Regions from separate parts of the Homo sapiens genome. Here region 1 is linked to region 2. The links are contacts of gene promoters, found by promoter capture Hi-C in human tissues and cell types (Jung and others, 2019). All regions are on one chromosome and are shown on one strand. Each heading gives the region's core, a stretch centred on a gene start or on the middle of the fragment in contact. The rest is flanking DNA. Distances are from core to core; before and after follow the strand shown.

What was found. Contacts are between HindIII fragments. The study calls those that stand out against the background at their distance.
Region 1: a contact is called between a fragment that was not itself captured here and the fragment with the promoter of AGPS in region 2, in 1 of the 25 tissues and cell types used here (hippocampus).

Annotation. Positions count from the first base shown.
Region 1 is chr2:177,595,507-177,599,066 of GRCh38, forward strand. It overlaps LOC124906098 (a long non-coding RNA gene), which reads right to left. Exons shown (of 3, transcript XR_007087317.1): 3 at 902-2,627. Among named protein-coding and RNA genes, the nearest start is that of IFT70A-AS1, 5.8 kb to the right of the region's middle. The HindIII fragment of the contact is 5,513 bases long and covers 1-3,560 here.
Region 2 is chr2:177,391,013-177,394,659 of GRCh38, forward strand. It overlaps AGPS (alkylglycerone phosphate synthase), which reads left to right and starts at 1,761. Exons shown (of 20, transcript NM_003659.4): 1 at 1,761-2,037. The coding sequence starts at 1,778. LOC100130691 (Putative uncharacterized protein FLJ44553) reads right to left here and starts at 1,679. Exons shown (of 9, transcript NR_026966.1): 1 at 1,561-1,679. RefSeq lists silencers at 1,761-1,980, 3,189-3,483. The HindIII fragment of the contact is 5,797 bases long and covers 1-3,647 here.

The DNA of each region.
Region 1 (3,560 bases), core at 882-3,381, 200 kb after region 2:
GGAGGGGCAGAGCAATGGAGTCACTGTCATTGAAAATGACTGTGTCCCTGTGGTGAAATTGGCCCAGCCAGGACTGGTAATACATTGAGGTGGTTCCCAAGTTTGGTTGGCTTCCTAGAAGTTGAAAGCCTTATTTCTCTGAGCACATTTCCCTTTAATCACTGTGCTTTCCAGAGACCCAGGCTTCAGCTGTATCCAGCACAAAACAATTTGGGTACAAGCCACAAAGAGGACTCTAACAGCATGCATAAAGACTCCAACTCCCTGAAATTGATGTTTTTCTTCTCATCACTGCCATTCCCACACATGCCTATAACATGGATTTGAAATGGCCTGTTTGTATAAAGACTGCACACTGTTTCAAGCCATCACAACAATGGATAAGAAGCATTTACACTATCATTTTTAATGCAAAAGACAGAGTTACCCTAAGCCACGCTGCTATTAGCTTTGAATGTTTTTTGTCAGGGTGCAGTCTGCTGTGCATGAGACCAAGATGAAATGCCATTCCAGGTGACTCCGTGACCCTATGTGAGTATGTGTGTTTAGGCACCTGTTTAAAACATAACCACAGGCCAACATACCTTTTTTGAAGCACATGGATATCATTACTACACTTGAATTTTGGGTTGGAAGGAAATACAGCAGTTAACCACCTGAAATCTCAGTAAACAAAATAAGAATACCATCAAGTTTTACAACTGTGGGACAGAAGATTGCCAAATATAGGTTCCATTTAAAAAATTAGGAACTAAGTTATGTTACATACTTGAGTATTTTTGTCACAGAGTTATTACCTGTAACTAGAAGATTCCATTTCTACTAAGAAGTGGAGTAATAAATGGAAAAACATCAGTTGCTGTACCTTTGATTCCAATCCCATTGTATTCAGACAATGCAATGAATTTCTCACAAGCTTTTAATATGTAAAAACAATGCACTGGTATTCCTAATATTTTAAATGTATGTTGCTTGTCTTTTGCTAGTGGCAAAGAGGACCAGCATTAAGATGTCTGTTCATCAATTTCTTGATGTCTGCCCATCAGTTTCTCTCTCGATCAGGTGCTCCACCAGACTCAATTTAATGGAGGAAATCTCATTTGGGTCCTGGAAAGATTAAAGCACCTTACCCTTTACTTCCAAATTGAGTTCCTCTGGGAATCAACTTGAGATCCAGAAGTCTTGAATGAAACCAAATGCTTTGGGAGATAGTTTGCATTGCCTTAAAGTTTGCTCTCTGGAGGACTGTAGACACCGCAAACGGCCTTCTGTACTGTGTTCGGCTACTGTAGTCAATGTACTGAGAAACTCTTAATATTCCTAGGGCTTCCTAAATGGCCTAGAAATAAAGCTAACAGAAGAGGGCAATATATTTCACATAACTAACTTAACAGCATACCCAAAGTTATTTCTTTTCAAATAGCTCATGAAAGGACCTGGTCAGAATTTTGGTGGCAATAGAAATACCTGAACATGAATCCATCAGCTGCCCTTTAAATCTCCAGACTTTGAGTCTATTAAGAATGAAACACCACCCTGGAGGCTACAACCTTTACAAGGTCTGTGTTTCTTCTCCAAAAAATAAAAAGAACAAAGTCACCACTCTCCTCTCTCAACTGGAGGAAAACTCAGTAGAAACTCAACACTCTTTTTCAGTGAGAAATACCTGATGTCATATATTTTGTTTAATAAAGACTGAATTGGCTGTACACTAAGCCGATTTAAGAATGTGATCTGCAACTCATAGTCTTAATTACATGGAAAAAAAAGTGAATGAGTTCATTAATGCTGTAAAAAGGAATAGTGACCCTACCTGCCAAGTAGCAAGGTGGAAATAATTAATCTGGTCAATTAAAAAGAAACAGATAATTTAAAACACAAAGGCTTCCAGGTGGGGCACTGCATTCTGCTCTCTGGAACTGCGACTTCTTATTGTCGATTTTGGTTTTCTCAGTAAGTTTTCTTTGTTCTTTCCTTAAAATTTTTTTTTTTCGTCATGGATCAAATCAAATAGAAAAATCTGTCTGAGCTACAAAGCATGACTTGTTGCATTATGTCTTATGTCCTAAAATGTTGATTGATGCTAACTAACATACACTCTGGAAGTGCTCTGGCGGGGGCAGCGGGGGGTGGGTGGGGGAAGGGGTTACCAAGTTCCAGTATCATATCCAAGATTCTTTTCTCTCTTGGTGGGAGTCTGTTATATCTTACTTTCCCTTCAAAATTGTTTGCCTTTCCTGGGGTTTTAATAATATTTTTAAAGTGCTGGAGTCTGAGCCGCACTGTCTGGCTTATCTAATCCCATTTATGATCCTATAACCTTGAAGCTTGCCATGGCCTGGCTGTCAGCACCAGATTCTAAATACATGGGGCAGTGTGTTTGCTCCATGGAACAGGAAATTAGTCAAACAGTTACTTTTCTACAAATGTTCATAATTTCTCTTGACATTTACAAGCCAGTAGTAGTTCTTAGACATCGAATGATCTCAAGCCCCTCAGGGAGCAGTGAGTGGTTATCTATAACACTGCCCTGTGCAGATATTTGTGCAGAGCGTCAGTGCACTCCATTCCATTGCAGCAGAAAGATTGAGCACCGTCACCCAGCGCTGGTCCAGTCTATCTGTGCACTGCAGGTACAAGGAAAAAAGAACGTGTTAGTACTTTAATCCTTTTCAGCTGGTCCAAGCCCGGTCTCAGGACAAATATTAATATCATTTTCATTTTAACCATGGCAAAGGTTGAATAAAGCAGCATCCAATTTTTTCAATCTGCTCAAGAGAAAACTGTTTTCGTGGTGAAAGTTTGACTGCAAAATTCTGGTTGCTAAGGAGGAAAAACCTCATCTAAGAAAACAAATGTTGCTGTGGTGAAATGCGATTTGAAAGTCTGTATTTCCTAGGTGTTAGACTTGGCAAGTTAGAAATAGTGAGGGTGGAGAAAGGATGCTTTCCGTGGATGTGCTCAAACACAGTAGTACATATTGTCAGCTCTGCAGGAGGCGTGCTGTGGCCATATGTGTGTTGCGGAGTGAAATGGAATAAACAGCTGCTGCCAGGAATCCAATTCCTGGCAAGGAGGCAAACCCAAGTCCTCCTGTTTCCAAAATAAAAATCACCAGAGGGATTCCCCTTACAGCAGTTCCAGCCAGTAGTTTTATAAAAGCATAAAACATCAGTGTATTGTGGTTTATAATAATCCCTTACATTTGTAAAGCATTTTACAGTTTATAAAGTGCTTTACATACATTATCTCATTTGAGCCTCATAACAGCTCTGGAGAGTACTAGGCAAAATATTGAGATTCTCTTTTCACAGATGGAAAAAGGAAGGTTCAAAGAATGAAATGGTGAACCTGGTGCCCCAGCCTACAGCCATCCAGGCAGAGACATCCAGGGGCTACACTGGGGGCCTTGGGGACCCAGTAAAGGGATTAGTTTTTGTGTAGTTGAGGTGCAAAAGCAATTTTACTTCTCTTTGTGCAAGCATCAGCTTGCTCTATCAAAGGGCTTCTCCCACACTTTTTGAAGCAGCAAGGGAAGAAAGTAAGTTGTAAGGGAGCAA
Region 2 (3,647 bases), core at 511-3,010:
TGATAGCTGTGGTGGCAATCTCTGAAATTCTTCCCAGAACTCAATCCTTAAGAACCAGGAGTATAGTTTATAATTAAAGTGAAAATTTATTTTAGAAAGTTCAATTTTAGAATCTATAAAATAAAAAACAAAAACCCCAAGCCTACGTAAGTAATTTTAACGTAAAATGTTAATGGCCCCAAACTCTAATGGTGGAATAAGGACAATAACATGAAGTATATGATATTTGAGATAAAATATAGCTATTTAAGAAAAGCTTCTTACTCTCCTTGAGCCTTCATCTATAAAATAAGGATAATAAAACTGTGTCATTGTGTTACTGCAAAGATTGATTAAATAGATACGTATAAGATGCCTAGGTTATGGCCATTTTTTATATTTAACAAATTCCTAATTCTTTCTTGTTTCTACAACTGTACTAAATTATTTTAATAGCTGCAAAAGTATTTTAACATATTGACTAACCATTTCTCTGTTGCTAGACATTTGGACTGTTTTCAATGGTTTGGTATCTCTTCGTATATAAATTTCAGAAGACATTCGGACCTCCTGTAAAGGCCAGGTAATACATATTTTGGGGCTTCTGGGACCACATAAGGTCTCTGTTGCATATTCTTTTAAAAAATTTCTTGTTTTCTTTTAACAACCCTTCTCAAATACAAAAACCATTAGCATGAGGGCTGTGTAAAAACAGGCCACAGACTAGAGCTGGCCCTCCAACAGCAATTTGCTTAGCCCTTAATTGAGAGTTTTTAACCAGTCTGGGCCTCTTTGGAAGTTCACTCTAAAGGCATAATCTCAATTTTAGAAGCTGGCAACACCCAAGAGAGCAATTGTTAGTCTCTAGTCCCATGGATGTGGTGTTCTTCAGATTCCTCTGCCAATATTTTTCTTGTTAGGAAAGCATGATGTGAAAGTGGTGACAGGATGGAGAATGACAATGGCCAGTGTATGTGAGTTTTTGTCTAAGCTAATTCTTATGCAAGACACCGGCTGAAACAGGTGAGGAGCACTTTTCACGTGCTATCTTCCAGAAATGAATTCAATCTGTAAATAACTGAGATGTCTTCACAGCTCTTGGGTAATTTTTGTCTGTAGCAATAAGAAACTTTATCTCTATTAAAGTTAGGAAGGGGTTAGGATCCAGTAATGAATGAAATGAGAACTTAAGTTGCAACTCAGTTTCTGTACTTACTTGTGATCTAGCATTAAACACAGTGCCAGGCACGAAATAGGTGGTGAGAAATAAGAAAATGATAGAGCTATTTGCTCTAATGGTTAGAGGCAATGATGGTCAGCTTTGAGTTACTTTGGTGACCCCGCAGGGAGGAAGAGCACAGGTGGAACATTAGAATCTCTTTCAGGAAAAGGATGCCGCTGGATCCATCAGGTCCAGTAGCACTGCCCATTTCTCCTGCTCCAAGGCATCTGCCCTCGAAAGCCCCCAGGCCACACCCGAGGACACCACCCAGGGTTCTAGGACACCTCGAGGGCGGACGTGGTTTGGCTCTCGGTCCAGCTGGACCGGGCTGGGCCAACCGGGAGTCAGCTCGAACTCACCTGCTTGGCAGGTGCGCGCTTCCCGAGGCGTGACAAGGGAGCGCCGGCGCGGTGGGTGGGGGGCAGAGAATGTGAAGCTCCAGACGCATGGCACCCGCCGCCAAGTCGCCGCGGTGGCTGCCGGGATGCGCCGCAGCGAATGGTCGCGCCGGGCGCCGCTCTGAGTGACCTTTCACCCGCGCCCAGCGGTTCCGGGCGGCAGCACAAGGCGGTAGCCATGGCGGAGGCGGCGGCTGCAGCGGGTGGGACTGGCTTGGGCGCGGGCGCGAGCTACGGGTCTGCAGCGGACCGGGACCGGGACCCGGACCCGGACCGCGCCGGGCGGAGGCTGCGGGTTCTCTCTGGCCATCTGCTGGGCCGGCCCCGGGAGGCTCTGAGTACCAATGAGTGCAAAGCGCGGAGAGCCGCGTCGGCGGCCACGGCAGCGCCCACGGCCACTCCCGCCGCGCAGGAGTCGGGCACCATCCCAAAGAAGCGGTGAGTAGCGGTATGTGGAAGGAGTTAGCGTCGAGGGACCAGGCCGGGCCTGTGCTGCAGGAGGGCACAGGCGAGGTGGGAAGGGAAGTGACACGGGTGGGCGGAAGGCATCCCGGTCCCTGAAAGTAGGGACCCACCTCTCTTTCGAGAGAGTGGACTAGACCCTGGATTCTGTCAGGAAGGGGGCGGGATGGGATGGTGGATTTTGGTCACTATGTGAGGGTAACAGGCTTGAAGAACTCTCGTTGGAGAAGGGTTTAAAGGATTCCTTTTTCCTGAGCTTTTAGTGCCAGGAATTCATTTTTTATCTTGAATTAATACTTTTGGTGCTGAGGTCTTGGAATGGGTAGCAGAGGTTCTATTTTTCTCCGAGGAGATATAAATTTGTACTAGATGATAGATCATAGGAATCTCTCTCATTCGCGAAAGCCTGCTGTGGGGGAAACTGGTGGTGCCCTGGAAAAAGGTGCTGACTGGTTTCTGTGGGGTAAGTTCCACTTGCTTAGGATCAAGATGTATTGACTTTGAGGGAGGAAACCGATGAATGGTAAGAAGCCATAAACTGCAAACACTAGCTAGTGGTTTAAGGTGTGGTGGTATAGCTACTGAGCTCTGTGTAACCAGAAGCTAAAAGACAAGAGTCTAACCGATGAGGGATGTTTGTAAGAGATCTTGACTTTCGATGTTTTTGGAGAAATCTTTTTTTTTTTTTTTGTATTTTTAGTAGAGACAGGGTTTCACCGTGTTAGCCAGGATGGTCTCGATCTCCTCAATCTCTGATGAAGGCTATTAGGAGAAGCTACTTTCTGACGTGTGGCTTTGTCACCGTGGATAAATGGATAAACCGAGAGTGAAAAAAATAAGTAGCTAATGTTTAAAGTGTACTTTTAAGTGTGCCAAAGTGTGCTAAATCCTTTGTTTCTTCCCAAGCTATGAGGTATGTGCGGTTTTCTCCCATTTTACAGATGAATAAATTAAGTCTGCTGGAGTCTTAGCAGATATGCTGTGTGACAGGTTAGAATTTGAAAGCACATCAAATTGACTTCATGGCCAAGTTCCTAAGCTATACTTGCTTCTGATGAATTAATTCAACATACATGAGTCTTTACAAAATACACACTGTACCAGCAATACAGAAATTTAAAAATACGGTATTTACTCTTAAGGAAGGAATAGCTTAGTAGGTAAAATTATAATACAGCGTTATAAGAAACTTAACTGGGAACTATACCACCTGGTCATTTAACCCAGTTTTGGGTTTGTGTTTGTTAGTGCAAAGATGTTCCAAAGTAAAGATTGTCTGAGTAAATTTTGGATGTTTGCATTACTAATAGTTTGCCAAAGGGGGAAATTGTTCTTGGCATACAAACAGTATGTTCACAGGTAAAGAAGTGAGAGACAAATTAGGGAACTGCTGAGACTCAAGTGTAGTAGGAGAGGGTGAGAATGACAGGGGACGAAGACTGGAGAGGTGAATCTTGTTTACAGGATTTTACGTGGGGCAATACATGATTAGATTTACCTTTGATAAAGGTCACACTGGGAGCAAATTGAAGACAGTTGAGCATTTTGGCAGTATAATGGCTGGGAACATAGACCTGGATTTCAAT